Linked DNA regions of Homo sapiens: all the other regions are linked to region 1. The links are contacts of gene promoters, found by promoter capture Hi-C in blood cells and fetal thymus (Javierre and others, 2016). All regions are on one chromosome and are shown on one strand. The core of a region is centred on a gene start or on the middle of the fragment in contact, and the rest is flanking DNA. Distances in the headings are between cores, read along the strand shown. Region 1 holds the start of ADAM7 (ADAM metallopeptidase domain 7). Region 2 holds the start of NKX2-6 (NK2 homeobox 6). Region 3 overlaps LOC107986930 (a long non-coding RNA gene). Region 4 overlaps LOC107986930 (a long non-coding RNA gene).

Region 1 (3,707 bases), core at 726-3,225:
AATACAAAAATTAGCTCAGCATGGTGGCACACACTTGTAGTCTCAGCTACTCAGAAAGCTGAGACAGGAGAATTGCTTAAACCCAGGAGGCAGAGGTTGCAGTGAGCCAAGATTGCACCACTGCACTCCACCCTAGGTGACAGAGCGACACTGCATCTCAGAAATAAAAAATAAATAAATAATCACACTTGTTGCAATGTAACCAAAGAATGTCTTGGACTATAATGGAGGCAAAAAAAAAAAACTTAGTGGTGGACTGATTATAAGGGATGTCATTGATGATACTGACTTTCAGAATTGCAATGCTAAAGGGATGAGGCACTGCTGGCCAAGACAGAGGACAAACTGGGGGGAAATGTATTTTAAGTCTTGTACATATTGATTTTACAAGGACTTTGATCCTTCCCAATGAAGACATTAAGTAGAAACTTTGCTGTAAAGATCTGTTGCCCAAATGGCTAGAAATATAAAATGTGAGGCATAGCATAGCAATAATTAAACCATAACTGAAGATGAGATGGCTTTGGAACAAGCATAATCGGAGGAAAAGAGGGTGTTTAATAAATACCTCAAGGAACTCAAAAATTTAAATGCTACATAGAAAAGGATATACCTACAAGTTGCCACTGAACCAGGAAGAAGTTAAGAAGGCTATTGTGGCAAGGGAGCTAAATAGTATATTTCAAGGGGAAGGATGTGGTCAACAGTGCTAAAAATTGTTAAAAGGGCAAATGAGATGAGGAAACAAAATATCTCTTGGATATAGAAATGGTAAAATCACTGGAGATATTGGCCATTTCAGTAGAATAATAAAGGCAGATGCTAGAACTGGGATGTGGTAGGATAAGTTTGAGGTAAGAAAATTGCAAGAAGTCCAGGTAATACTGTGTTAGAAATTTAGCTGTAAAGGAAATGGGAGAAAAAGTGATAGTAAGAGTATATGAGATATAGAATAGAGAGAATTTTTCAAAAAGGAGAGACTTTTGACTTGACTTAAAATGGTACCCCCGTTTTAAGCCAAGGGACTCCGATTTCTCTGCCTCCTTTCCAAGTTTGCTTATGTTTTCCCAATTTGTAAATATCAGTGTCAATTTCCCCACCTGCAAAGTGGGGATTATATTTTATAATGCTGCTATACATGGCTGCTAACTGGGAGCAAGTGAACTGTATGAGGACAATTCTGTTTTTCAACCACAATGGATGAATATTAATGTCAGATGGATTTTTCCTCTTATGTTTCCTTGTAGAAAAAGTCGTCCTTGGAGCAGAGGGTCTAAATATCAAAAGGAAGCTTCCAATTGACATAGATTCGTTCAGTTTGTGGAAATATTAGAGACATATAGATGCGGGTGAGAAATAGAATCCCAAATGAAGATAAAAGGATTCTATTGGCCATGGGATAACTCTACTAACATAACAAGAGAACACAGACATACAGATGGAATTGTCGAGGCCCTTTGCACATCTGTCCATTGGTATTCTTTTTTGTATTGCTTTGAAAGGGCTCTATATTATATGGACACTTACTCCCACCTTTTATTTATTTATTACATACATTTCTGTAGTTTGGATATTTTAATTTTAATATGTGATTTATGCCATATAAATTTTCAATATTTCTCATTTAACAAATGTTCCTTTTAGTTTTTATATGGCATACTCTGCATAGAAAGAATTTAACCATCTTCAACCAAAGCATATATAAATATTTTTCAACATTTTTTTCCTAAGACATTCTTGATTTTTTTCCACTTTTGAAGTTTTCAGATATCTGGAATCAAATTTATATTAGACATGACGTAGGAATCTATGTCCAGCCAACCTTCACCACCACCACCTCGGTAGTTGTCTTTAATTAGAACATGATGTTCAACCTCCAGGTTTTAGCCTCAAGCACCTAGCAAGTTGTGTAACTCCCTCAAGGAACACTTCCTTGTTGTGGATCAAAACTGCCCACCTATCTGTGAGGTGCTTCATCCCTGCAGTGGAAGTGAGGAGGAAGAAAGGTGAACTCCTTTTCTCAAGCACTTCTGCTCTCCTCTACCAGAATCACTCAGAATGCTTCCCGGGTGTATATTCTTGATGATTTTACTCATTCCTCAGGTTAAAGGTATGTCTTGCTCTTTTTATCAGGACTTTCTTATTATGCTGTGAGGTTGTGTCTCTTTAGTCACAAACTTTAAACTGTAAGTGATAAAAACATTAAACGTTGATGATTTTTCTGAGAGCTTCGACTAGATTACAGCTAATCATGAGACTCCATGCATCTGTGTAATGCCATATCACTCTTGAACATTCTGACCCACAGTGAGGAGGAGAAAGGAGTGGACAAGTACTGCATATCTGCAGCATGGCAGGCACTGTGCTGGCCATTAGCTGCTTTGTATGTTAAAGTGTTTAAAATTTGAAATTAATATCTCCACTTTACAGATAAGGAAAATGAGACTATTTACAGATCAGAGAAATTAAATATGCTACTGCTGGCCACACAATAAATTGGTAAAGGCTTGATTCAAATCAGAGCATATTCCAGAAACCCCATGCCCTCTCCTTTTTATTGCTCTTTAAGTATCACACCTTAATTAAGCAGGGCTCATCTCACAGATGACTATCAAGGTGATAGGACATGAATAGAAGATTATGGTTGGCACTGATGCAGGGCTACCCAAAATTCTTTAACAGGTAAAGGTCTTATACTTAACTACGAAAGGTAAGACTTTAAATGCAAACATCCCTGGAAGACCAAATTCAGTAATTTACATTCAAACAGGACAACAGTGCAGGCTTTGACAGGAGACAAAATCCAGAGGTTGGCATGAGGATAACAAAACGACAACTGCAGGCCAGACATGGTGGCTCATGCCTGTAATCCCAGCACTTTGGGAGGCTGAGGCAGGTGGATCACCTGAGGTCAGGAGTTTGAGACTAGCCTGGCCAACATGGTGAAACCCCGTCTCTACTAAAAATACAAAAATTAGCCAGGCATGGTGGTGTGCACTTGTAATCCCAGCTACTTGGGAGGCTGAGGTGGAAGAATCGCTTGAACCGGGGAGGCGGAGGTTGCAGTGAGCCGAGATCACGCCACTACACTCCAGCCTGGCTGACAGAGCGAGACTCTGTCTCAAAAAAATAAATAAATGAAACAAAAAATAAAATTACAGCTGCAGAACATGGCGAAAATATGGAGGAAATGGAGGGACACTGATTTCTTTGGCTCCTTTCCAAGTTTCCTTATATTCTCCTGATTTGTAAATATCAGTGTCAATTTCCTTGCCAGTAAAGTGGGAATAACATTTCATAGTGTTGCTGTCCATGGCTGCTAACTGGGGGCAAATGAACTGTATTAGAACAATTCTGTTTTTCAGCCGCTGTAGACGAATGTTAATGTCAGACGGATTTTTTCCTCTTATGTTTCCTCGTAGAAAAGTTCATCCTTGGAGTAGAGGGTCAACAACTGGTTCGTCCTAAAAAGCTTCCTCTGATACAGAAGCGAGATACTGGACACACCCATGATGATGACATACTGGTACAAGTTTTGATTTAGTAAATAAGATTTGTTGCTTTCACAGGCATGTAGACAGTTGTCTCTAGCTCCAACCAGAAGCAAATAGGGAGAGAGGAGTTTCAATTTTTCTAAGGACTCCCATTCGGCATACACCATGTGCTTGGGAATAAGCAACCCCTCAATGGGTTAGAAAACAGAAAAG
Region 2 (3,707 bases), core at 396-2,895, 730 kb before region 1:
ATCGGCTGCGAGGCGACTGTGGTGGTCGAAGGAACGTGATCCTTTGTCAGCTCAGCGGAGCCGAAGTGATCGCCGAGTTGGCTGAGCAGCGCCGAGGGAGTTTAGAATCCGCTGCAGAAAACCTACCAGCTTCTTCGCGGACACAGCAGGTAATGTTCTTAGGCTTCTGGAGTTAGTGAGTAGCCGGCCTGCAGGCCGGTAAATAACTCCGATCTAGCCCCTTGGTTTATTTCTTTCGTTCGCGCCTTGAATGGAGGCGCCATGGCACAGTCTGGCAGAGGAGGCCTGCCCTGGCGGGCGCTACTCAGGGCCCCTGCGTTGAGAATGCCGAGTGAGGTGCTGAGGTTTGGAGAGAAAAAGGTGGCGTTTTCATCCCTTGGAATATCGGGCCTCTCCAGCTGAAGCCTCCGGATCGACACAACACAACTCCCGGATCGACGCAACACAACTCCCCGCCAGCCCCTTCCCTTCCAGCGGGCTGGACACAGGTGCGTGGGCCTCGCAGCCCGGCGCGCACGGTTGCGCCTTTGGATACCTGCGACAGGACTCGGCCAGAACCGTGTCCCAGGGCAGAGAAAACCCTGGCAACCTTTAACGTTCTCCCTGACGCGGAGAATCCTGCGCCAACGGGGCCTTCCACTTCGGGAGACTCAATCGCCACCCGGTCCCCAACTTTCGTCTTCCAGAAGAAAAATCCATGAGGAGGAATGGGGGGGTCCCCCGACCAGACCAGCAAGAAAGGGCCCAGTTAGGAGTGACCTCAGCGCCACGAGGGTTCCACTGCTTTGATGGCCACACGCTTTTGCAAACGGTTTGGGGGTGGAGAGACACCAGGTGATGGTAGGGAAGGGCGGTGGTGACTGGCACGGCTAAGACACTGCGGAGGGTTTCGCTGTGGAGATGAGAAGGTGGAGGTTCTGGGCACTGTGGCTGCGAGTGTGAGCGATGCGTTTGTGGGAATCAGAGGAGCGGATTTGGGAAAAGTGAATCCTTGAGATTCAGGGCCTTACTTTCGTTAGGGGTGTGTGAAGCACACTGGGTGTCAGGAGAGGATGGGAATGGGATTCGAGAGGCCTTTTTTTGGACTCCTCGAGAGAAAATGGAGAGAGTCTCGAACCCAGGAGATAGGAGGCGTATTTTCCCCATGCACCCATGGATCACGCCCCCGCCCCCACATTCCCCCCGTAGGAGGCAAGACCTGAGCGCTTACTCACGTGGCTCCCCCATCCGTTCCGCGTCCATCTCCAAGACTGCCTCACAGGGACCCCCAGGAGGCTCCGAACCATCCAGCTTTCTGTCACCGCCGCCGCCACCAGCGTTGTGAACCTCTGACCCTCGCGGCTCTGCGTCCATTCTCAGGTACTGAAAGTTTTCCGGGCTCTTCCGCACCCGCGGATGTGGCGAAGCCGCGGGGCAGCTCCGCTCGCGCTCCAGTCGCAGGATGTCCTTGACCGAGAAGGGGGTGGAGGTGACGGGGCTCAGCAGCATCCCGAAGGCGGATGGGGCGGGGCCGAGGAGGTCCGGGTGAGGAGCGGCACCCTGAACTTCCCGTCTTGTCGCTGCAGGCCCCGCAGACAGACCCAAGCTCTGGGACAGACGCCCAGCGTCCCAGACAGCGCCTTCCTCTGGGCCATGCTGGTAGGCCCGGGTCCAGGGCCGGGTGACGAGACCGTAGCCCCCCATTGGTTCTCGCAGAAACCACGTGCTAGCTCTGCACCTTCCTCCCCCAGCGCTTTCTTCCCGCGCCCGTCGAATCCTCTCCAGTCCCCAGTCGCCTTCCTGGGAGGTTTGGTTCGTATTGACGGTTCTCAAAGCAAAGAAAACGTGGAGAGACAGTGCTGCGCGCGGCTTGGATCTCCGTCAATACGGTACTAGCGGGAGCTTCCGAGGTCAACCTAGGGTCCACGGGGACCCTCCTAGTGGACATGCGGGGATTGGAGGTGGAGTCCTTGCTGTGCAACCCGATCCGGTCCATCCAGCCTGGTCTTAGCTCAACTCTGCATTCTTATGGCGGAGGAAAGCTAAGATAGAGACAGCTGGGACCCGCGGAATTTGAGGCGCGCGCTGGGATCTTACGTGCGCAGAGGCCGGACCGCAGAGTAGAAGTGAGTCTTGACCCACCAGGGCCTATATTGAGATGGAAACCTCTCTCTTTGAACAGAATCCAGGTCTGCGGAGTCCCGACCCGCCACTTCCTAGGAGCAGCTTCTCAGCCCCAGGACCGAGGAATGGGTGTGGGGGCTACATGTGGGGAGCCCTCGACCTCTTAAAGGGCTCCGCGAATGGTGGGGGAGACTGGAAGGCAATCTCTGCGGCCCGCGCAAAGTGGTCAGAGGCGGGAGTGGGGGTGGGGGGGGGTGGGCTTCCGTCGCCCTTGGCGTCCCCACGTTCTTTTTCTTCCTCTCCTTTATCCTCCTTAAAGCGGATTGCCTGGAGCGTGCCAGCTTGTGTGCGCGTATAAATGCGGCGCCCGCCGAAGGGCTGGGAAGATTTGACTCGCATTAGATCTCCAGAAAAGGCCCTTGGTTACGGCGGGCACCGAGTAAATGGCGCAGTGTGGCACAAAGGTTACCAACACGGAGATAGCGCCAACAGATCCAGCCCCTGCTGTTACTACTCCTGGATCAGGGAAACGTGATTTGGTGTCAGCTGTTCCAGCACTGAATCGAAGAGGGTTTAAAAATTGTGTTTTAATCACAATGGGATCTCATTAGAGTTCTTTTGGGGATTTCAGATCAAATGTTTCTTTTTGTTTTTCTTTCCTTCCTTTCCCTCCCTCCCTCCCTCCTTTTTCTTTCTTTCTTTTCTTTCTTTCTCTTTCTTCCTTTTTTTTTTTTTTTTTGGTTACAGGGTCTCTCTCTGTCTCCCAGGCTGGAATGCAGTGGCCGGATCATGGCTCGCTGCAGCCTCGACCCGGACTCAGTGATCCTCCCACCTCAGCCTCCTGAGTAGCTGGGACCACAGATGCAGCCACTAAGCCTGGCTATTTATTTATTTATTTATTGCTTGTAGAGCCGGGGTTTCGCCATGTTGCTTAGGCTGGTCTTGAACTCCTGGGCTCAAGTAATGTGCCCACCTCGGCCTCCCAAAGTGCTGGGATTACAGGTGTGAGCCACCGCGCAGGCTTCAAATGCTTCTTAAACCTACTTACGTGAATTCAATGTTACAACAGCTGTTTGAATATGATTATCTCCTGAAATTCAGATAAACCCAACTCATCTCCCCAGGCTAATGGGTGCAAAATTGCACACAAATATTTATGCAAAATTTCAGCACATTTGATCATTCAGCTACAAAGTAATGATTTCCTATACATGGTAACATTTAATCTTCACATCAAAGCTATACCCAAATATTTCCAGCTGCTGCTCCTTCTTCTTCTTCCTCCTCCTCTTCTTCTTCTTCTTCTTCTTCTTCTTCTTCTTCTTCTTCTTCTTCTTCTTCTTCTTCTTCTTCTTCTTCTTCCCCTCCTCCTCCTCCTCCTCCTTCTCCTTCTCCTTCTTCTTCTTTTGTTCAGCGAGGAGTCCAGATCAGAGAGGTGGCCCAGATAGTTCACCAAATGGCAAGACCAGACTAGCCTCTAAACCAAGACAATTTACCCTGTCTTTCTTTCTTTTTGAAATATACATCCTTTGCTCTTAGAGATCTCAAAATCTTCTGATGACCCATACATTTATTTGAATTTTTGTTTCCTGATAAAAGTCATC
Region 3 (3,707 bases), core at 528-3,027, 690 kb before region 1:
TTGGTGCAAGGCATGAAAATAGGAAAAAGGTGGCTTTGGGAGGTCAATGTGCCCCAGAACACTGAAGCCTGAAGATTATTCTAATCTCCTGATGCTGTCAGAAGCATAAACTATTACTTTTTTTTTCTTTCTTTTTTTTTTTTTTTTGCTTACTGCATTAGCTGCCTTCCCTTTTCTAACTATAACCCTAATCCTGTCCTAACCCTAACTCAACCCTGATCCTGCCTGGTTTCCCCTATTACTGTGTTTCTACAGAGCAGGCCACTGATTTACCTCCCCCGCAGCTCAGCTTCCACACCAGTTTCCAGGCCAACTTTGAATCGAGGCAGGAGTAGTCTACACTGGCTCAGCTCTGTAACAGTTCTGCTACTTCCAGACCCAAATCCACACACAGACACACACACAGACACACACACACACACTAAAGTGCGATGTAGTGTTGAGTCACTCTTTTTGCCACTATAGCCACAGACCTCTGCCTTGTTATTTCCCACAGCTCCCCCTGCACTCTTATATTTGATACATGAACTTGGCCTTATAACAAGGTTCTTTTTCCAAGTTCCACAGCTGGAACCTTTGCCATGCACCCAGTATATTTTTGTCATTGGTTCCTTTATTCATTCCATATTCACTGAGTCCCTGCTCAGGCCTGTGCTGGTTGCCAGGGATTTGTACCTGCACAAAGAGCTACGTCCCCTTGGGTTCCTGTTCTGATCACCTGGTGGGGTCCTCCGTGACTGTCTCATTCTTGCCAGTTTCCCCTCCTCAAGTGCTGAGACCAAGTGCCTCACCTCTCTGGGTAGCAGAGTCCTGTGACTCACACCTTTCAGACCATGCCTGCCTATGTGCCTGGACCTCAGAGTCCTTCCTTCCGGGGCCTGGGCTTGCTCTGTGTGGGAAGAAACATCTTGTTACAGATAATGCATCCCTGATGCTAACTCTTCGCTTGAACTGTGATGGGGCAGGCAGGCTGAGCCTCCACAGACAGCCCCTTGTGGCAGCAAGAAACCTTGTCCAGCCCCAGAGAAAACACAGAGCTGACACCTGCCCGTTTCATGCAGTTGGCCTCGTGTGCTAATTAGCTAAGTCCTGGAAAGTGGGTAAAGTCCAGTAACCTACGGTGTGAGTCCCAGTTGGACACGGTGACTTTATGTGCATAATGTGCATAAAAGGATTTTCTGTTGTTAGAAAATAAGTAGCTGTAAGAGGAGAAAATTAAAGGATAAACTAGAGAAAGAAGCCTCTCAGAGTCAAATGAGCAAGTTCCTTAAGAAATAATGTTTTGAGCTTGCAAGATGGTAGAGGATGCAGATGAGGCTGGGCTGGGCTGGAGGGACTGCAGCGAACTTCAGTGAGGAGAGAACTGGGTTGAGAGTCCCAGGTCCTACCTGTCTGTGCCACTAAGCGCACTGTGCGACCATAGCATATTACCCATGTGTTTCTGATGCTTTGACATGTGGGGCCTTGCTGACACTGGAGGGACTATCCCTTCCAAGGCTAGCTAATTTCCAGAGATGGTAAAGAACTTGCTTTTGAGTGTACCTTTTGTATACAGACCAATCCATCTAGAACCCATTCCTTCAACAACCTTCTGTATCTGGCTCTCACACTCTGGACTGCTATTCCCTTGTCTTCATTACCCCAGGGCCAGGTACTAGATGACTAGGGCCAACCCCTAGCCCCAGAGCCCACTGAAATTATTCAAACTGGCTGGCCCTAAGCTGCTTACCCTGCCTTGCCTCTTCTTTCACATGGAAGCCCTCTGCCTCCTGACCCAACCCTGATGGCCTCCCACTCCCATGGCCTGGCATGCCCTCCTTCTCTTGGGAATTTTGAGTAAAATCTTTTTTTTTTTTTTTGAGGCAGGGTCTTGTTCTGTCACCCAGGCTGGAGTGCAGTAGTGCAATAAAGGCTCACTGCAGACTTGACCTCTTGGGCTCAAGTGATCCTTCCATCTCAGCCTCCTGAGTAGCTGGGACCACAGTATGCACTACCACACCTGGCTAATTTTTGCATTTTTAGTGGAGAAGGGTTTTTGCCATGTTGCCCAGGCTGGTCTCAAACTCCTGAGTTCAAGCAATCTGCCTGCCTTGGCCTCCCAAAGTGCTAGAATTACAGGCATGCATCACTGTGCCTGGCCGAGTAGACGTTTTAATAGACGAATTTTTAATAGACAAATAGGCTTTTTAGAGTATTTAGATTGACAGCAAAATTGAACAAAAGGCACAGAGGTTTCCCATATCCTGCTGCCCTGACACATGTACAGCCTCCCCCACTGTGGACATCCCCCACTAGAGTGGAGCATTTGTTACAATTGATCAAACTACATCAACATGTCACAATCACCAAAAGCTCATAGTTTAAGTTAGAGTTTACTCTTGCTATTGGACATTCTGGGGATTTGGACAAAGGATGCATAGCTACCATTATAGTATCCGTCTGAGTCTCAATTTTCCTTGTCACTAAAATGAGGGGTTGGATTAAATGGACTTTTCTGAAGTCTCCTTTTTAAGGACCCAGATAGGCTTGAGAGGTAGCGAGTGAGTCCCTCACTACTCCCCTAACTCCCTCAGGACCCCTAACCCTGTGGACCCTGCTGCTGAGAGTGGCTGAGGAGTGGGGGTCTCACTGTGCAAGGCGTCTTCCTGCTCACTGCCGGCAGGCATAATTCCCGCAGTCCCAATGAAGGAACCCTGCCTCGTACAGGTGGGGATTAGAATCTCAAAATAAAGTCAGATAATGCCAACAGTGGCATCCTTTTAAAACTGAAAGGTTAGAATTCAAGAGAAAACACTAAATTCAATTGCTTGAATGTGGAACTCTTAATCACCCTAATTAAATATCTTCATTTAGGGAGACTTGGAAACATGGATCTTGACGTTTTTGCTTTGCCAGAATCACAGAAGTACGCTTAGAGACATTTTCCTTTCTCCCCAACTCTCTAAACAGGAATCCCTTCTCCAGTGCCAGAAAGGCAGTTTTCTGCACTCAGCAGCGCTCCAAATTGTCAGATGGATGCCCAGAGCTGGGCTTGGGGGTCAGATGTGGCTAAATGTCTCCGATCTAGGTTCCTGCCATCCTGGCCCAAGGCAGAGGTAGCATGTAGTCCTCACTATTGAACGCTCCCAGCTCTAGGATTTGCTTGAAGAAAAATTTTGCCTTATAAATCCCCTAGATGGTGCTCCTTGTCAAGTGTGAGTGTTTCTTTCTTTTTACCCCTTTCTTTTGAAGCTGCTGGCATCTCAGCAGCTTCAAAAGGCCCAAGTTAGCTGCTGTTGTCTCACTGGAAAGTTTCAGTTGTCAGACTCGGGGAGTGACGTCAGAAGTGATTTCTGCTGGAAACAGTCCCCTCCTCTGGATGTTTCACAATGGTTTACAGTAGGAATGAGATGTATGCCGTATTTATGTGGATGGCACATGGCTCTTGTTGTCACAGGACAGTCATTCTGTATACACAGTGGGTCACTGCAGTTGGTGGCTGATGTTACATCGATATGACTGAGATGGGGGGCAGGGAGGAATGAGGTGTCAAGAGGTGAGGTCACGTCCCTATCTTCTCCTCCTTCCTTTCTCTCCCTGGTTCAACTTTTCTTTGGAAAGACAAATATAGGCTGGGCACGGTGGCTAACACCTGTAATCCCAGCACTTTGGGAGGCCGAGGCGGGTGGATCACGAGGTCAAGAGATTGAGACCATCCTGGCCAACAT
Region 4 (3,707 bases), core at 629-3,128, 660 kb before region 1:
GAATTTTATAGACATCTTAGTTAGGAAATTTTGCGGAAAGTATTTCTTCATATACACTACACAGAGCAGAATTTTTAACTGAATTTATGTGAAAATATTTTAGAACTGAGATTAAACTAGTATCATGACACATGATTTGCACGTAAACAACTGATACAATACTTTTAAAGTATTCCTCTTTATATTTTCAAAGCAGGTCGTCTAAAGTATCTGTTTTTGTTTATTTATTTATTTTTTTTAGTGGGGACATTTAAAACAATCTCAATAAAACAAACCTAGGAGGACAAAAAAGTATCAAGGAGCAGAAATTAAAGACCTTAAAATCCTATCTCAGAGAGGCAATTACTGTTAATATTTCCTTTCAATCTTTTTTCTATTCATGTTTTAGGTAGTTGCTATGACCCATGGTATCAGTCATGATAGACTTGGTTGTTATGTGGTAATACTCATCTCCAAGTTTTGATTGTGCAGGAGTACAGTTGCTTATTTCTCACTTGTGTTACATGTCCTTTGCAGATTGATTGGAGACCCTGTAGCCATGTCATTATCACCTTTACTCAGAGTAATCACGATCTGGAACTTTTCTGGTTACCACAGTAGGGTGAAAAGAGTGCACTGAATGGCCACACACTGGAAATTAAACATTTGCACAGGAAATGACACATAATGCTTATGCTCGCAAATCAATGGCAAGAATTGATCACTTGGCCTAATCCAACCACAAACCCCCATTATACCATGCATACTTTATTAAACAATGAAACTATTACTAAATAATACTTATAAAGCTTAGTTTGAGTTATTATATGAAACCCATAAAATTATATATCTTTTCTTTTCTTTTTTTTTTTGAAACAGGGTCTCACTCTGTAGCCCAGGCTGGAATGCAGTGGTGAGATCTTGGCTCACTTCAACCTCTGCCACCCGTGTTGAAATGATTCTCCCACTTCAGCTTCCTAGGTAGCTGGGATTACAGGTGCGCGCCACCATGCCTGGCTAATTTTTGTATTTTTAGTAGGGACAGGGTTTCACTATGTTGGCCTGGTGGGTTAAAATTATCTATCTTTTCAAATTAGTCTATAGTCACACTTTCAATGAATTCCTATTGGATTGTCAAGGGTTTATTTGTATTGGTTACATTGATCGAATTTGGTGATGAAAAGGAATGTTTCCCCCAACTTTAAATGTTTCCTTTCATGAGGTGGGGATCCACCAGCTTGATGCTCTTGTCCTTATTTGATTGGTGAGCTTGGAAGGAGAAATTGGGCTCCATAGCCGAGGCCTTTCTGGTTCCTTTCTCTTGAGAGGGAGCTGCCTGTAGGAAGTGTTATCTGTTCTTCTCCCCATGGTGTTGGAGGCGGTCTACGCTGGTCTAGCTGGGGTGACCCATCATCCAGGTTTGCTCAGGACTTAGGGGTTTCTTGGGATGTGGGGCTTTCAGTGCTAAAACAAGGATAGCATCTTCTTGTGATTGCCTGGTAAAATATGGAAAATTTTGGGATCCAAGACGAGGAAGCCTATTTGTTCCATCATCTTAGCCGCCACATTCTCTACTATAATATTTATCAGTAATAAAGATGATAATTTAGCCTCTCATTAAAGAGAGGTTTTACTTTCATTTCTCAATTGTCTCAGAACCCAGGCCAGTAAGAGAGATGCTCTTTAGGGAGCCTCTTAAACCTGAATGCTGGGATTAGCACAGTCCTCATTTGCCCTTTTCCCACATAGATCGTACCATGGATGGATCTGGCAGCCTCCACAAATAATGAATCCAGATCTGAAGTTGCACTTCTCCAAGATAAACATCCTATGGGACTAATAAACTTGATCTAGTTGAGGTCTAAGATCAGAGTTTATTTATCTATTTGGCTTCTGTAGTGTAATTTCTCCAAAGCTCAATAATGTTTAGATAAACAGATGCGTTGTGACTAAGCGGGAGGGGGTCAGATCAAAGTAGAAGCAGAAGGGCAGGGTGAGAGGAAATCAGTCAAGAGGATGAGAAGGAGGACAGTCACTAGGACAGCCACTTCACTTTGATGAGGGTCCAGGTGGTGGGCAAATCACAGGGCAATTTCTGATTCTTGAGTGCATGAGGCACCCTTGACACTATAGCTGAATTCACTTCAAACATGGAGAACTGAGGGAAGCAGCAATAAGCCAGTGGATTCACTCCTGCTTTTCATTTATTTTTTTTAATTAATTAATTTTTTTTTTTGAGACAGAGTCTTGCTCTGTCACCCAGGCCAGAGTGCAGTGGTGCAATCTTGGCTCACTGCAACCTCCATCTCCCGGGTTCAGGCAATTCTCATGCCTCAGCCTCTGGAGTAGCTGGGACTACAGGCACCTGCCATCATGCCTGGCTAATTTTTGTATTTTTAGTAGAGATGGGGTTTGGCCATGTTGGCCAGGCTGGTCTCGAACTCCTGACCTCAGGTGATCCGCCCATCTTGGCTTCCCAAAGTGCTGTGATTACAGGATGAGCTACCACGCCCGGCCATACTCCTGCTTTTTAGGCAGAAACATTGTCTGTCACATATGCAGATTTGTTTTACTTCCATAAATCACCAAATATTTCAGTTCAAGCAAGAATAACAAGAAACAAAACCTCCTTTGAACATTTAAATGTTCATCTGCTCTGCATATTTGTGTACTTGTCAGTTTTACAAATAAGGTCCCTTAAATATTTTTAAGAATTACCATGGTTGGTGTTCAGCTGCTTTTACCATGTCCTTGCAATGGTGACATGCATAAAGTTTGGCAACTGGGATAGCACAGGCCCAGGCCAATCAGCACAGATACTAGGTACAGATCACTGGTATGGCCCTGCAGGTGCATGCAAGCTGCAAACCAGCCCTATACATATGGGAATATGTGAATTGTCTTGTTAATACCTCTCTGCGGGTAACTTGGATTCCTAAATTTTCTGGCTAATTCAGAGTCTCCTAATCTAACCTACTCTCTGGAACACTAAGCTTCCTATCTTTTTATTTTTCCTTCTTCTAGCAAGGGATTTCTCAAAGAGTGATGCTCTAGACACTTTGTTACTCGGACCTGTTGAGTTGGAATTCCTGGGGTGGGGGCTAGATGTCTGTCTGTTCACAGCCTCCTCAGATGACTCTGATGTAGCTCACCAAAGTGGGAGGACCCCTCTCCATGTGACTTTCTCCATTTATAAAGGGACACTTGGAATGTGACTGCATATACCTCCAGCTGTCCTGCTCTCCCCTGCCTTTCATTTTATAATTTTCTCTCCTAAAGGTTGACCCTTATTATTGTTTGACATTTTGAGATCATCAAACATAATCTAAGCAATCATTCTTTTCATTGTCTCAGAAGCAGTCAAGTTTATTGAGAGTAAACATAAGCCTTTTCCAAAGATAAGACGCACAGACATAGTCTTTGGTCTCATTTTCTTGTCTGCAGAGGAGATTTTTCTCTTTTAAAACTCTACAGATTAAAAAAAAGATGAAGAAGGGAAATCAGCCTCCCCCAGTCCCAATCCATTTCTCCCTCCCCTTTTCTGGAGGGAAGGTGGGAATGAGGTGCTAATTCTTTTGTTAGAAACAGTAAAGGCAGGTGTTAGTTTTCCTCCCCACTGCCCCCTGCACCCGCCCCCCTCCACCCCACCCCCCCGATCAATTTCATGGTCAATGAGTTTATGCACATATTTATTTTACTTTAGGCAAAGGTAATCAACAAGGCTGGTG

The links. Contacts are between HindIII fragments. The CHiCAGO score rates a contact against its expected background, and 5 or more counts as called.
Region 2: a contact is called between the fragment with the promoter of NKX2-6 here and the fragment with the promoter of ADAM7 in region 1, in 5 of 17 cell types (M0 macrophages, total B cells, naive B cells and 2 more). The highest score is 11.0, in M0 macrophages.
Region 3: a fragment that was not itself captured here is called in contact with the fragment with the promoter of ADAM7 in region 1 in 1 of 17 cell types (naive B cells); the score reaches 5.8 in naive B cells.
Region 4: a contact is called between a fragment that was not itself captured here and the fragment with the promoter of ADAM7 in region 1, in 1 of 17 cell types (total B cells). The highest score is 5.7, in total B cells.

What each region holds. Positions count from the first base shown.
Region 1 is chr8:24,439,051-24,442,757 of GRCh38, forward strand. It overlaps ADAM7 (ADAM metallopeptidase domain 7), which reads left to right and starts at 1,976. Exons shown (of 22, transcript NM_003817.4): 1 at 1,976-2,110; 2 at 3,423-3,526. The coding sequence starts at 2,059. All of the region lies in intron 1 of ADAM7-AS1 (ADAM7, ADAMDEC1 and ADAM28 antisense RNA 1), which reads right to left. The HindIII fragment of the contact is 2,181 bases long and covers 1,290-3,470 here.
Region 2 is chr8:23,705,111-23,708,817 of GRCh38, forward strand. NKX2-6 (NK2 homeobox 6) reads right to left here and starts at 1,646. Exons shown (of 2, transcript NM_001136271.3): 1 at 1,215-1,646. The coding sequence starts at 1,488. All of the region lies in intron 3 of LOC107986930 (a long non-coding RNA gene), which reads left to right. RefSeq lists an enhancer at 1-265. The HindIII fragment of the contact is 21,372 bases long and covers 1-3,707 here.
Region 3 is chr8:23,752,189-23,755,895 of GRCh38, forward strand. The region is part of intron 3 of LOC107986930 (a long non-coding RNA gene); the gene reads left to right. Among named protein-coding and RNA genes, the nearest start is that of NKX2-6, 47 kb to the left of the region's middle. The HindIII fragment of the contact is 7,978 bases long and covers 1-3,707 here.
Region 4 is chr8:23,782,874-23,786,580 of GRCh38, forward strand. The region is part of intron 3 of LOC107986930 (a long non-coding RNA gene); the gene reads left to right. Among named protein-coding and RNA genes, the nearest start is that of STC1, 70 kb to the right of the region's middle. RefSeq lists an enhancer at 1,209-1,792. The HindIII fragment of the contact is 2,184 bases long and covers 787-2,970 here.